Regions from separate parts of the Homo sapiens genome. Here region 2 is linked to region 1. The links are contacts of gene promoters, found by promoter capture Hi-C in human tissues and cell types (Jung and others, 2019). All regions are on one chromosome and are shown on one strand. The core of a region is centred on a gene start or on the middle of the fragment in contact, and the rest is flanking DNA. Distances in the headings are between cores, read along the strand shown. Region 1 holds the start of BDKRB1 (bradykinin receptor B1). Region 2 overlaps C14orf132 (chromosome 14 open reading frame 132).

The links. The method cuts DNA at HindIII sites, captures the fragments that hold promoters and counts their contacts. A contact is called where the count stands out against the background at its distance.
Region 2: a fragment that was not itself captured here is called in contact with the fragment with the promoter of BDKRB1 in region 1 in 1 of the 25 tissues and cell types used here (IMR-90 fibroblasts).

Annotation. Positions count from the first base shown.
Region 1 is chr14:96,253,400-96,257,851 of GRCh38, reverse strand. It overlaps BDKRB1 (bradykinin receptor B1), which reads right to left and starts at 1,642. Exons shown (of 3, transcript NM_000710.4): 1 at 1,552-1,642. RefSeq lists an enhancer at 4,147-4,452. The HindIII fragment of the contact is 16,224 bases long and covers 1-4,452 here.
Region 2 is chr14:96,062,940-96,066,930 of GRCh38, reverse strand. All of the region lies in intron 1 of C14orf132 (chromosome 14 open reading frame 132), which reads right to left. Among named protein-coding and RNA genes, the nearest start is that of C14orf132, 26 kb to the right of the region's middle. The HindIII fragment of the contact is 6,124 bases long and covers 1-3,991 here.

The DNA of each region.
Region 1 (4,452 bases), core at 393-2,892:
CCTCTCTCTTTCTACCTGTAAATACTAATTTTTGGGGGAAATAATTTTTGACTATTGGGGTGCCCCGGCAGTGTGCACACACATGGCCTGACCATCCCTCTCCTAGCTATCTCTGATGATGGCCAGGAAGCTGAGGTCTATGGTGACAGAGGCTGGCAGGTGGGAATCTGTAGAATTCCCCGGCGATTGGTTGGGATTTCTCAGGGAGAAAGGAGGCGAGGTCCTGACCTGTGGTGGAGGGGCTGGGGCATTGAGAGTTTGAGAAGAGATGGGAGGGTGTTGAGCACTGATATGGTTTGGCTGTGTCCCCACCCAAATCTCATCTTGAGTTGTAGCTCCCATAATTCTCTCGTGTTGTGTGAGGGACTTGGTGGGAGATAATTGAATCATGGGGATGGAGAACAAAGCCAAGCCAATATCTTGACTTTAGCTCAGCGAGACTGAGTTTGAACTCCTGATCTCCAGAACTGTAAGATAATAACTTGCATCGTTTTAAGCCACTCACTTTGTGATAATTAATTATAGCAGCCTTAGGAAACCAGCACGGGGGTGAGGCTGCACCCTGCCCAGGAAGCCAGAGACGACCAGCTACGCAGGGACTTTAGCTCGAACCTGATTAGGTCAGTGGACACCGCCCCCATCCCCAGGACGGGGAGGTGGCTGGGGCCACTGCAGCCACAGCATGTGTCTGCTCACATGGGGCTTATTTTTAAAGGGATTGTCCTCACCTGCTGCTGTCTGTGTTTATAAAGTTGGCTAGAGAGGAGAAATCTTCCTTTGCCAGTTTTCAGCTTTAGCTCTGATATTTGCCTGGAACATAGTAGGTGCTCAATAAACAATATCTCTGGATATTGTTAGTAATATGTGACCCTATTTGAAGAACTCAGAAGGGGCACTGGGCAAGTCTACAAGAGATGGCAATTCTGTAATTCCTGTGTGGTATTTTCTGAATTCTGCACATTTTAACCTAGGCTATGAGACAGTGTGACTTTCTTCAACAAATTAGTTAATTCTTCAAATTAACTCCAATTTCAACAGCATGGTGATGTTAAAGGCATTGGAAATTCAGCCACAGATGTTAAAGACCATCAGCACGGTCACATAGTAAGATGCTACTTTCAAGCCACGAATAACCCAACCAGTTATTGGTCTTATGAAATCTTGTAAGCCATCCCAGAGAGACTAATTTAATTTTTATGATTCAGAATTTGCAGGCTGTAACTGGTCAGTCCATGCGAACTCTGGTGGCTGCATTCAGCCCTGACATGTTTCACCTGACTTTGATATAAGGAGCTACTGGAACCTTCCTACGAGTTCTAAAACCTTTCCCTCCTCCTCCTGTTCTGGAAAAGCAATTAAGACCCAAACTAGGCATGAAATAAAAGTCTCTTAAATTGATTTAGAATTATTTTTAAAAAGTACCCTCACAGAAGTGGAAAATTTTGCCAATAGGTAGGTGTAAAAGGAAGTTTTTTGTTTTTCTAAGAGACACAGATTTCCTCTCATATTGTACTCTCATAAAAGAAAAAAAAAAGGTGGTCATTTACTTACTCAGGCAGAAAATGAAGGCGTTCACAACTGTAGTTGGGTTTTCTGATAGTGAGAGCTGCTTTTGGAGGAGTTTTCTCTTCTGGGAAGTGCTGTGGAGATGTGGTTGCTTTAAATTATATAACCTCCGCTCCAGTGATGTCATTGTGGGGATTGCCGCAAAAGTGAGTCTTTCGGGACTCACTCCAAGTGGATTTGGAAGGAAAAATCCACTCTCATTTCACTTTGCACTTTAGGGATGATAAGAGATTATTCAGCTACCATCTCCCCCTTTACTTTGGTACCATCTGCAGAGGTCTGCAATCCTGCCCAAGACCTGTATGTTGGCAAACACGCCCTAAAAACATGTTTTGACATCGCCAACTTGCCCCAAGGCTCGCAAAGTGTCAGTGAACATTGAGGGATGGCTTTTGGCCCCTTCACTATTGGCTTCTGAATGTCTGGGGCTCTGCAGCAGCTTTTGTGGGAGCCACTTCGAATGGCCTCTTTTGAATTTTGGTCATGAAAGATACATCGCCAAGAATCCATCAGAGTGGACCCATCACACAAACAGAGAGCTAGGAAAACGTTTGACTCATGCAATGTTCAGAGTTGAGTAAGACCAGATACATTTTTTCCTAATCCTCCTTGGCGTCTCTCAAATTATGTCTGCATGGGTCAAGTTGAACTACTCAAGACCTCATGTTTCAGACAGTAAGATATTTTTGGCTTTGAGAATCAGGTGACAAGATTCTCCAACTGAAGGCCCCTTACCTGTCAACTTACAAATTAAGATCTTTCCAGGCCACCCCCTACACGTAGGAGAACTCATTCATGCCAGAATTCAGGACTTCGAGTCTGACTTCTGGAAAGGTGACCCTCCAAATGTTTGGAGCAGAAGGTGTCACCTCTGTCTTTAGAATCTTGCCTTTTGCTTGTGTTCCCTTTTTCTGCTAGTGACATCTCAGCGGGAGCCAACTGCACTTCAAGTTTTCCTGCTGTCTTCTCCTGTTGCTGAAGACCTTAAAACTGTGGAAGTAGGTGGAACAAATAGCATTCTGAGGCTCAGTAGCGGATGTACATTTCAGGGAAGAAGCTGGAATTTGCCTTAGAGGATAGGATGGTCCCCTCCTATCAGGAGAGACCTCCTGGGTGGGATTTTTAATAAAAAAAAATTGTCAACAGGCAAGCATCTTCCATTACTCCCGGGATAGATCTGAACCGGAGGAAGGCTCCAAATCTTAGCCTTTCCTGTTACTTAGTAATGTAGGCGGGGGTCTCTCCAGCCCGTGGCTGGCTTATTCTCCCTTCAGTATGAGTTTAGACTATACTGTTTCTGAGAAGCGTTTGTTCTTAGGAGATGTCTCCCTGTTTATTCACCCAGGAGTGCGTATAAGGCCAGCTCTGCCACAAAGAGCACGTGCAGGTCTCATCTCTGCTTTGCCTCTTGCTGGAAGACAGTCTGTGAAGAGAGCTGGCCTGAGTGAGCTGGACTTCGGAGATGCATCTGGCTGCCTTGCCAAGGTGGTGGAGGGCGGAAAGGAAAGTTCTTTAAGAAGACCCACGTTTCCCCTTGTTGCTCATCTCCACGGGAAATGCGAGACAGGCCCGGGCTCAGGGGAGCAGAGGGTCTCCTACTGTCTCTGGGGCCAAGGGAGTGGGGCTGAGGGCAGGGGGAGGGGACCCCAAATCTGTGAAAGAAAAGCAGGTCCCTATAGTGTGGCAGAAGATAGCAGGGGACTAAGAAGTGGGTAGGCACTGAGGACCCTCTTCTGAGGCTTCGCTTGCCTTTTTTCTTTTTTTTTTGAGACTGAGTTTCGCTCTTGTTGCTCAGGCTGGAGTGCAATGGAGCGATCTCGGCTCACTGCAACCTTCGCCTCCTGGGTTCAAGCGATTCTCCTGCCTCAGCCTCCCGAGTAGCTGGGATTACAGGCACACACCACCACACCCAGCTAATTTTGTATTTTTAGTAGAGACGGGGTTTCTCCATGTTGGTTAGGCTGGTCTCAAACTCCCGACCTCAGGTGATCCACCCACCTTGGCCTCCCAAAGTGCTGGGATTACAGGCGTGAGACACCGTGCCCGGCCAATGCTTGCCTTTTCTGAATTTAGTTGTTTGTAATTCCCACAGCCTCTATAAGGTTTGGTTAAACCTTACAGTCTGATGTGTGCTGTGCTTGATGAAGTCCCCTGGGTACTTGGGTGAAGAGGTGGTCACAGAGGATAAAGGCCTGCCTCTGGAAATAGAGGACAGGCCAACCTTCCCTGGGGTGTCCTAAATACTAGTGAGGGGGCACTCCAGGCAGGCTGGACTCCCTGTAGTATGCGTGGGCTTGGGCCATACTGGATGTGTATTCAAGGGAAGGTGAGCTCTGGAGTTTGCAGCCCCTGGGGACATGCAGTCCCAGTGCCCACTGTGACATCAAGGGCCACTTTTCAGTTCTCTCATCCATCAGTCCTGGAGTTTTTTTCTCCTTTACTTTTCTAGTCATATCCAGCAGGTTCTTCAAAATGAAAGACTCTAGTACATGTCACCCAGCAGACCTCTACAAATAGCACCCAGATGCTGAGCCTCTCCAGGGTTCGTTCTTAGTCCTTACACGACATCTGATGTCTCCAGTATTCTCCCAATTGTAGACGGAGGACAGAAAGCCACAGCTGGGCAGAATTCTTGCCAGGATGAAATGCAGCACCCTCACTGTGGTCCAGCTCGTGTCCTTTCACCCCCGACCAAGGCTGTTGGCGGTCACACCTTTCTTCCCATCACAGGGTTTAGAAACTCATGCAACGTACATACAAGTCTGCAACAAAGGACTGTAAACCAATCTCCTGGCTTTCTGATTCCTTTCCTTCAGTCTATCCTTCTGCTGGATTAATATTCTGGAAACACCTGGATTTTGTCATGCCACAGGACAACGACCCAAC
Region 2 (3,991 bases), core at 955-3,454, 190 kb after region 1:
TCCTAACCCTCCTCACTCCAGGTTGAATTAACAGCTTTCTCTATTGGGGTCTTACACTAATTTATTCCTAGAACTGACAAAATATTTATTACATTACATTATATTTACTACATTACATGTATTATAGTACATTCTATTATATTACATTACAATATATTATGTTATGTTACATTATCTTATAGTTAGATGTGTACTCACATTACATTATAGTTAACTGTGTACTTGTCTATTTTTCTTAGGGACTGTGAGCACTTGTAGGATACGGGTTGAGTCTAACTTCTCTTTGAATCCCGGTGCCTAGCACATCTACTGACATAGAGCAGATGCTAAAAATATTTTTTATTAAAAAAAAAAGTTTACCCAAACAATTGCTGTGCACTGAGCTACTTGATGTAATATATACATGGTGGAGGAGCTGGCTCTATTTTCTGTGTGTCCGACATGCCTCAACCCACAGTTGGACCCAGGGAAATAAGGATATTTTTGGAAAGCCTGAGAGCATTTCAGAATTAAGAGGAAAAAGCAAATTCACCGCTTCTGAAAGTGTTGCCATAGTAACTCAGCACAACGCAGGGGGAGAAAACGCTGTCTCATCAGAGCACAGCATCTTAGATTAGCAATAATGGAAGAAGCACTTGCCCTGCGGGGACAGAAAGGCTCAGATGGTGTGGTCCAGGGCCCTGGGGACCTTGTCCTCCACGCGCATCCCATGGTCCATGGTGAGAATTCAGGGGACTGGGACAAGCCCCAGAGCCACAGCTTGCATTCAGAGGAGGCTGGCTAAGAACCTTAAGAAGAAACAGCCAAGGCCTGTTTGAGATGCCCCACCTCCCTGGCTGTACCTGAGGAGCTCCTCCACGTGGCTGTGGCTTCCTGAGGTGGGGATAAGGGGGAGGAGGCTGTGCCTCTGTTGGCTCAGCTATGGGAAGTTCAGGCCACTTTCACTGGATCTCAGCGGTCAAGCAAAGCAAGAGGATGGGGAGTTTAAAAATTTTCCCTTGGGGAAGAGCTGGCAAAGGTTGCCATAAATTAGTATTTATTCTACCCCAATTAACTCGATAGCATCTTTGAAGTGATTCAGCAGTGTCATTGGAACCAAATGGGCGTCCCCTGTGTGGGTCAGCAGCCTCCTAATCAGATTAAATTCCTTGCCACTGAGCAGAATAAAGTCTCAGGGCCTTAGGAGGATGGGTGGGGAATGTGTTTGTTCAATTGTTATCTCGTTCATTGGCTGAACAGACCTTTTACTGAGCACCTACTACATGCTGGGGGTGGAGGGGGTCAGGCTAGAAGCCAGAGGTACCAAGAAAAAAACTATGTAATCCCTATTTTGGAGGAAGAGAGAGAGAAGGGGAAAGTGGTGGGGGGTGATGAAGGCTAAGAGGAGAGGACAAAAGGAATAAAAGTGAAACTGAGCATCATTCTCCATCAGCGAGCACACGCATACTGGAGTGAAGCGGCGGCCGGGGCAACGGCAAGCCCAGGATGTTTACCTCCCTAAGTGGATCCTTTTGGTTTATTTTTAAACATCCTCTCCTCTATATGGCAAAATTGTCTTCAGTAGTAATCATGGCATGAAACAACAGCAACAAAAGGCCAGATTCTCCACTGGAGATGCACATCGGAATCTCCAGGAGGACGTTCTAAAATGCTATAGTCTCCTCCAACCAATGTAGCTCTCAGGGGAACACACTGCACCCTCCTCCCCAGGGGCACCTGTATGAGCAGAAGAGGAAGGCACAGAGGTGGCCATCCTGTGCCAACACAATCCGGCTCAGAACCCTGCAGCCTCACAGTTATTTCAGTACACCCAGCTGGGTCAGAAGCCAGAGAAAACTCCCCCGACCGCTACACATGATGTCCAGGAAGTCACGTCAAAACCCCCTACCTATGTATGGGAGGAAGACAGCACACTGGGTTAGGAAGAAAACAGGGCCAGAGAAGCTAAGGGAGGTGGCACCATGTGTGTGCACAATCCCTGCCAACCAGCAAAGCCTGTTCAACAGAGCTGGCCAGAGCGGAATCCCAGCATGGAAAATGCAAAATGCCAGGAGAGCAAATTAAGATGAGGACGTGACTTTTTTATTTTTTAATTTTTTTAATTTTATTTTTCCATGAGTTATTGGGGTACAGGTGGTTTGTGGTTGCATGAGTAAGTTCTTTAGTGGTGATTTGTGAGATTTTGGTGCACTCATCACCCGAGCAGTAGACACTGCACCGTATTTGTAGTCTTTTATGCCCCCTCTTCCACTCTTCCCCCAAGTTCTCAAAGTCCATTGTATCATTCTTGTGCCTTTGCATCCCCACAGCTTAGCTCCCACATACCAGTGAGAACATATGATGTTTGGGTTTCCATTCCTGAGTCACTTCACTTAGAATAAGAGTCTCCAATCTCATCCAGGTCACTGCAAATGCTATTAATTCATTCCTTTTTATGGCTGCCTAGTAGTCCATCATATATATATATACATACATATACACATATATATACACATATATATGTGTATATATGTGTATATATATACATATATGTATATGTGTGTGTGTGTGTGTGTGTGTGTGTGTGTATATATGCACCCTAGTTTCTTTATCCACTCGATGATTGATGGGCATTTGGGTCAGTTCCACGATTTTGCAGTTGTGGATTGTGCTGCTATAAACATGCCTGTGCAAATATCTTTTTCACATAATGACTTCTTTTCCTCTGGGTAGATACACAGTACTGGGATTGCTGGATCAAATGGTAGTTCTACTTTTATTTCTTTAAGGAATCTCCACACTGTTTTCCATAGTGGCTGTACTAGTTTACATTCCCACCAGCTGTGTAGAAGTGTTTCCTGCTCACCACATCCCTGCCAACATCTACTGTTTTTTGATTATGGCCATTCTTGCAGGAATAAGGTGGTATCGCATTGTGGTTTCGATTTGCATTTCCCTGATGATTAGTGATGTTGAGCATTTTTTCATATGTTTGTTGGCCATTTGCATATCTTCTTTTGAAAATTGTCTATTCATGTCCTTAGCTCACTTTTTGATGGGATTGTTTATTTTTTTTATTACTGATTTGTTTGATTTTGTTGTAGATTCTGGATATTAGTCCTTTGTCAGATGTATAGATAGTGAAGATTTTCTCCCACTCTGTGGGTTGTCTGTTTACTCTGCTGACTGTTCCTTTTGCCGTGCAAAAGCTCTTTAGAATAATTAGGTCCCAGCTATTTATCTTTGTTTTTATTGCATTTGCTTTTGGGTTCTTGGTCACCAAATCCTTGCCTAAGCCAATGTAGGGACGTAACTTTTGTTGTTCCTCAAAAGGATGCCACATGGCTGGGTGTGGTGGCTCACCCCTGCAATCCCAGCATTTTGGGAGGCTGAGGCAGGTGGATCACCTGAGGTCAGGAGTTTGAGACCAGCCTGGCCAACATGGTGAAACCCCGTCTCTACTAAAAATACAAAAATTAGCCCGACGTGGTGGCGTTTGCCTGTAGTCTCAACTACTGGGGAGGCTGAGGCAGGAGAATCACTTGAAACCAGGAGACAGACGTTACAGTGAGCCAAGATTGTACCACTACACTCCAGCCTGGGTGACAGAGCGAGACTCTGTCTCAAAAAACAAACAAACAAACAAAAGGATACCACAGTCCTGTTCCTTGGGTGGACAGTACTTTTCAAGAGGTCAGTTCTTATACGGAACCTCCATCCTATTCACCCTCTGTTCCTGAGGGGATGGCAGCTTGGACAAGAGCAAGGAGGCCTGAGACCCGCCCCAGCTGCAAGTCAACGGCTGCTTCACAGCTCCCTGGCCTCTGCTTACCCAGCTATCAAACAGATATGACGATCCCTGCCTCATCCACCTTCCAAACTCTTTAAAAGCATCAGATGAAAAAATTTTTTTCTGTGATAAAAGTACTGACATCCACTCTTTTTGTGACTCTGGGCAGAGAGGGTCTGTGGTGTGTCTTTGATCCTCAGTGTTTTGCACATAGCAGGCACT